Linked DNA regions of Homo sapiens: region 1 is linked to region 2. Evidence: promoter capture Hi-C in human tissues and cell types (Jung and others, 2019). All regions are on one chromosome and are shown on one strand. Each heading gives the region's core, a stretch centred on a gene start or on the middle of the fragment in contact. The rest is flanking DNA. Distances are from core to core; before and after follow the strand shown.

The links. Contacts are between HindIII fragments. The study calls those that stand out against the background at their distance.
Region 1: a fragment that was not itself captured here is called in contact with the fragment with the promoter of UBA7 in region 2 in 1 of the 25 tissues and cell types used here (pancreas).

The regions. Positions count from the first base shown.
Region 1 is chr3:49,862,482-49,865,569 of GRCh38, reverse strand. All of the region lies in intron 1 of CAMKV (CaM kinase like vesicle associated), which reads left to right. It also overlaps the pseudogene RN7SL217P. Among named protein-coding and RNA genes, the nearest start is that of CAMKV, 5.9 kb to the left of the region's middle. The HindIII fragment of the contact is 9,007 bases long and covers 1-3,088 here.
Region 2 is chr3:49,811,999-49,815,253 of GRCh38, reverse strand. UBA7 (ubiquitin like modifier activating enzyme 7) reads left to right here and starts at 1,301. Exons shown (of 24, transcript NM_003335.3): 1 at 1,301-1,522; 2 at 1,607-1,775; 3 at 1,871-2,005; 4 at 2,086-2,192; 5 at 2,516-2,606; 6 at 2,711-2,846; 7 at 3,048-3,145; 8 at 3,238-3,255. The coding sequence starts at 1,467. RefSeq lists an enhancer at 1,178-1,567. The HindIII fragment of the contact is 21,739 bases long and covers 1-3,255 here.

The DNA.
Region 1 (3,088 bases), core at 440-2,939, 50 kb before region 2:
TGAGCTGGCGAGTCACCTGTTGTTGGACATTTAGGTAGTTGCTGAATTTTTTTTAATGTTATAAATAACTCTGCCGTGACAAATAGGAATCTGACGGGAGGCTTTTGGGGGAAGGGCACTCTTGCCAGAGGGAATGGTGTAAGCAAAGCAACAGAGCCAGGGCACAGGTCCCTCCCAGCCTTCTTGGGAGACTGCAGGCTAAGGTACCATCCTCCTGCCCAGTACACGGCCCTCAGACTGAGATGACTGTTGCAGGCCCCCTCCTGCAGCTGTTATGGTGTGAAAATGTGTAGCCGGCAATGGTAACTGGCTATGCCTCTGCTCTCAGCTGTGAGGATGGGATTCTGGCCACATGCTTCTCCCCAGTGGAGGAGTGCAGGGTTGTGCCCATGGTGGCAGACATGCAGTCAGTGACGATCTTCAAAGCCTCTCCTTTGTCTCTGCTGTGCCTCGCAAGATGGCTTAAACCCTGTCTGGAATAATGCTGATGAAATGCATTTGTATTCCCTGAGCCCAAGCAACCCAGATGAAGGAATGATAGAGTTTGTTCCCTAATGCTGAAGGCAAATCTGAGGGAGAATTTCCAGGGCTGTGACTCCTGGGAATCACAGCCTGGTGGCTGGCTTCTGCCTGGGAGGAAGCAAGTAGCAGCCAGGGTTGGCTATGGGGCTCGTTTGGGTCCTGGTCTTTGACTTTGGCTGGCAGAGTTCATCTTGCCAAGCTGCCTCCTTTGCCTCCTCCCTTCTCCACTACCTTGAGGCTGTGAGTGCCTTCAGGTCGGGGAGCATCTAGGTACCCCCAGGCCCTAGCTCAGGCCCTGCACACAGCAAGTGCTAATTGGCATGGAGGGAAAACATGCACAGTCAGCAGAGGCAGAGCAATTTCAGCGCAGCCTCAGTGCAGAGCTTGCTGTAGCCCCAGTGTCACACTGACCGGGTATTATGGAGGCACACCCTGGCGTCAGATCTGTGAAGGTCTAGTCAGTAACCCCCCACCCCCAGCTTTGAGCATGGGCTATGAGTGCCTTTTCCTTTGGACACTGGAGTCAGCCCCCCTAGCACTACAGATGAGGATTGGGCTGTAATTGGCAGGATTGCAGACCTGTGGGACACCGTGCCCCAGGTGGAAAGAGTGCCTAGCGCTCACTGAGCCAGCTATATCTGTTCTGTTTGGGGGCCTTGCACCTGGACCTGACAGCCCAGGTCCCCTGTGGGCCCCAGTGGGCATGAATGCATATGCAGAGCCGAAAGCTGGGACCAGGATCAGGCTTGTTTTGCTCTTCCTGACCAGTACACCTGCATACCTCCTGGCAAATCTTTTCCTACTGAGTCCTAATGCTGCCTCCAAAGCTTTACCTTGCCTCTCCACCCAGATTATCCCTCTGAGGAATCCCCCAAGCACTGTGCCTGAGTGCAGTATTTACTAAATTCATCGAAGTCATTATAGTAAAATAGTAAAAATTCGCACAGAAAATTAGTAAACAAAAGATATGTCTGCCTTTTTGACATCCAATTCTTTGCCCAGGAGAGAACTCTTATTTCCTTCAGTATTCTTCCAGAAAAGAGTTTGTGAGGGTACATCAGTATGTAAACTTTAAAAAATTTACCCAAGCCAGGTATGGTGGCTCATGCCTGTAATCCCAGCACTTTGGGAAGCTGAGGTGGGAGGATCACTTGAGCCCAGGAGTTCAAGAACAGCCTGGGCAACGTAATGAAATCCTGTATCTACAAAAAAATTTTTAAAAATTAGCCAGTTGTGGTGGTGTGCACCTATGGTCCAGTCCTAGCTACTCAGGAGGCTGAGGTGGGAGGATCGCTTGAGCCCAGGAGGTTGAGGCTGGAATGAGCTGTGATCATTCCACTGCATTCCAGCCTGGGTGCCACTGCATTCCAGCCTGGGTGACAGAACAGCTGGGCATGGTGCGGGTGCCTGTAATCCCAGCTGCGGTGGGAGGATCGTTTGAGTTCAGGAGCTCTGGGCTGCAGTGCGCTATGCCAGTTGGGTGTCTACACTAAGTTTGGCATTAGTATGGTGACTTCCTGGGAGCTAGAGCTCATCAGGTTGCCTAAAGGAGGGGTGAAGCAACCAAGGTCAGAGACGAAGCAGGTCAAAACTCCTGTGCTGATCAGTAGTGGGCTTGTGCCCATGAATAGCCACTGCACTCCAGCCTGGGCAACATAGTGAGACTTGTCTCTAAAAAAAGAAAGAAAGAAAGAAAAGAAAAGAAAAGAAATAGGTCTTCCAGAATCCCCCCATGTGTCCTGAATCAATCATAACCCCTCCTTTTCTCTTAGAAGGGACCATTATCTGACTCTGCTTATTTCCTAGCTTTTCTTTATAGCTCTACTGCTGTGTTTGTATCCCCCTTACGGGTTTGTTCTGCCTGTTTGAACTCTATCAATAGACTCATACTATATGTATTCTTTTGTGTCTTTTTGCACTTAACACTGTGTAAGAGTCACCAGGTGGTTGGGTATAGCTGTAGCTCCTTTGTTTCCATTGCTATATAATATTCCATTGTGTGACTCTACCACAATACATCCTGTTGGTGGTGGTATTTGGTCTGTTTTCAATTTTTGGCGATTATGTATATGGCTACTATGAGCATTGTATGACTGTCCTGATGCACGAATATGTGCACTTCTGTAGGCACGTATTTAGGAGTGCAATTGCTGGTTCATAGGGTATGTTTGTTTGACTTTAGTGGTTTTACCAAACTGCTTTACAAAGGGGAGTTTGCCCTCTCCTAGCAGTGCTCACGTTCTTCATATATCCACTAACACTTGTTAGCTCTAGACCTTCAGAGATGACTAGCAGGTGGGTGGGTGGTTATAGCCCCCTTCATCTGTAAAATAGCTGAAATTTAAATAAACTGTTTGATAAGCCTTTTTTTTGAATGTATAGAATACAAAACTATTCCCTTATATATCAGCTTAATACATTTTTTCATATGTAGGCTGTTGCACTTCAGGCAGCCAAGCTGAGTAGCTGGATGTCTAGCCAGAAAAGCAGGGGTAGGATCTAAGCCTGCCTATCCTCTAGCCCCTCCTGGTATGGTCTCTGCCCCTAGCTTGGCCTGAGCCAGGTT
Region 2 (3,255 bases), core at 52-2,551:
TAGGCAACCAGAGTGAGACCCTGTCTCAAAAACAAACAAACAAACAAAAACCACTTTAACAGGGTATGGTGGTGCACACCTCTAGTCCCAGCTACTTGGGAGGTTGAGGCAGCCGGATCACTTGACCCCAGGAGATCGAGGCTGCAGTGAGCTGTGATTGTGCCACTGCAGTCCAGCCTGGGCAACCGAGTGAGACTGTCTCAAAAAGAAAAAAAAAAAAAAAAGGACATAGCAGCACTATTCACAAATCCAAAAGTTAGAAATAACCCAGATGTCCATCAACAGATGAATGGATAAACGAATTGTGGTATATACATATAATGGACTATTATTCAGCCATTAAAAGGAATGAAATATTGATACAGGCTATAAACTCTATGAACATTGAAAACATTCTAAGTGAAAGGAAATAGACATAAGAGGTCACATTTTGCAATTCTTTTTTTTTTTTTTTTTTTTTTTGAGACTGAGTCTCACTCTGTTGCCCAGGCTGGAGCGCAGTGGCTCGATCTCAGCTCACTGCAACCTCCATCTCCCGAATTCAAGCAATTCTTCTGCCTCAGCCTCCCGAGTAGCTGGGATTACATGTAGGCATGCACCACCATGCCTGGCTAATTTTTGTACTTTTAGTAGAGATGGGGTTTCACCATGTTGGTCAGGCTGGTCTTGAACTCCAGACCTCAGGTGGTCCACCCGCCTTGGCCTCCCAAAGTGCTAGGATTACAGGTGTGAGCCACCATGCCCGGCCACATGTATGGTAATTATTGAATGTGTTTGGTATGTTCGTTGTGGGTGATGAAATATTTTGGAACTAGATAGACGTGATGGTTGAACAACACTGTGGATGCACTAAATGCCACTGAATTGTACACTTTAAAATTGTTAACTTTATGTTACATGAATTTCACCTAAATTAACAACAACAACAAAAAAGAACTTAAGACAGCACTTGGTTTGGCTATTACGTAGTTTCGTGACAAACAGTGGTCCATCTCCCAGAGAACTGGCCCCAGGTTCCTAAGAAGGCAAAAGGAGACACAGGACCTCTCTGCACTATTTTTTTTGCAACTTCTTATGAGTCTATAATTATTTCAAAATAAAAGTCTAAAAGGAAAATAAGAACATGTGTGAATGTGGCTGCCCCATGCCTCCCACCCTCAGGTCTGACACTCAGAGACTGATCACCTCTTGAGAGTCCTGGAACTCATCCCAGGTTTTAGACCCTGAATGGCCTGTCTGGGGCTGGCGTCTGGAGGCAGGATCAGGAGCCAGCTCAGAGCATAGTTTAACTTTCACTTTTCTTTTCTCCAGGAAGAGAGCTGTGACCAGCAGCGTCCCTTATTCGCTTGGCCTTGGTTCCTGTTTGCACTGGCTACAGCAGGGCACTGGCCCCTACTGTCACCGCCACCTACACAAAGACCCTATCTCTGAGCGCTGCAGCCTACTGTTCAGCCCCAGGTTTGAGGATGGATGCCCTGGACGCTTCGAAGCTACTGGATGAGGAGCTGTATTCAAGACAGCTGTGAGGCCCGAGGTGGGGGGTGGAGAGTGGGATGGTCTTCAGACCTTGATCTACAACTGCTTGCCTTCTGCTTCCCATCCACAGGTATGTGCTGGGCTCACCTGCCATGCAGAGGATTCAGGGAGCCAGGGTCCTGGTGTCAGGCCTGCAGGGCCTGGGGGCCGAGGTGGCCAAGAACTTGGTTCTGATGGGTGTGGGCAGCCTCACTCTGCATGATCCCCACCCCACCTGCTGGTCCGACCTGGCTGCCCAGGTAAGTGTCCTGGGGGGCTATGGGCTGCCAGACCAAGGTGGGGGCACGGCCCAAGAGGAGTGTCTTTGCTCAGGCTGCACTGGCTCTCTCCCTAGTTTCTCCTCTCAGAGCAGGACTTGGAAAGGAGCAGAGCCGAGGCCTCTCAAGAGCTCTTGGCTCAGCTCAACAGAGCTGTCCAGGTCGTCGTGCACACGGGTGACATCACTGAGGACCTGCTGTTGGACTTCCAGGTCAGCTCAGGCCTGCAGCCCTCAAGAGCAGGAAGGGCTGGGCAATGGTTTTGGCCCTGCTGATCACTGTGTCCACCCAGGTGGTGGTGCTGACTGCTGCAAAGCTGGAGGAGCAGCTGAAGGTGGGCACCTTGTGTCATAAGCATGGAGTTTGCTTTCTGGCGGCTGACACCCGGGGCCTCGTGGGGTGAGTAAGACTGCCTGCCCAGCCTACCATATTACAGCCAGCAACTGGCCTCATGCTGTCCTCAGCTCCAGGCTTGCTCCAGTGCCCCTCCAACCAGCCTCAGGTCTATCCCAGCATGCCTTTCTGATTCTGGTCCCCAGTCCTGCCCTCTGGTTCCTCCAACCTAGCCTCCAGACCTGCTCCAGTAACCCTCTCAAATTCTAGTTCCCAAGCCTCTCCTTGCATTCCTTTCCCAATTCTGGCCCTCTGGCCCTGCCCTAGTATCCCCTATCCTTAAGTACAATCTGTAAGCCACCTCAGTGACCCCTACCACCCCATCTCAGGCAGTTGTTCTGTGACTTTGGTGAGGACTTCACTGTGCAGGACCCCACAGAGGCAGAACCCCTGACAGCTGCCATCCAGCACATCTCCCAGGTGGGTGCTGAGCTGTAGGCATTCACCTGCTGACCAAGGAGAGGCTGCCAGGGCCTGTGGAAGGCAGGTCCAGGCAACCCTGAGCCAAGCCTCCTCCTACCCAGGGCTCCCCTGGCATTCTCACTCTGAGGAAAGGGGCCAATACCCACTACTTCCGTGATGGAGACTTGGTGACTTTCTCGGGAATTGAGGGAATGGTTGAGCTCAACGACTGTGATCCCCGGTCTATCCACGTGCGGGGTAAGCCAATCCCATTCCAATTCCAGGTGCAGGGCCCAAGCCTCCACTGGAAGTGAGCACAGCCTGGCCCTTGGGATGGGTTTTTCTCCCTCCACCTTCTACAAGGTGCAGCAAGGTCTGGGACACAGATGCAAGATAGGATGGGGTGTGGGAACTACTCAGGCTCAAGGATCATTACTGACTAGACTGGAACTCCCTCAGAGGATGGGTCCCTGGAGATTGGAGACACAACAACTTTCTCTCGGTACTTGCGTGGTGGGGCTATCACTGAAGTCAAGAGACCCAAGACTGTGAGACATGTGAGTGCAAGTGCATCTGAGGTAGGGGAGCTTGGTCGCCTTGAGGGGCCCATAGCATTCTGGACTAGACCCTGAGCCAGGTGCCCTTGCAGAAGTCCCTGGACACAGCC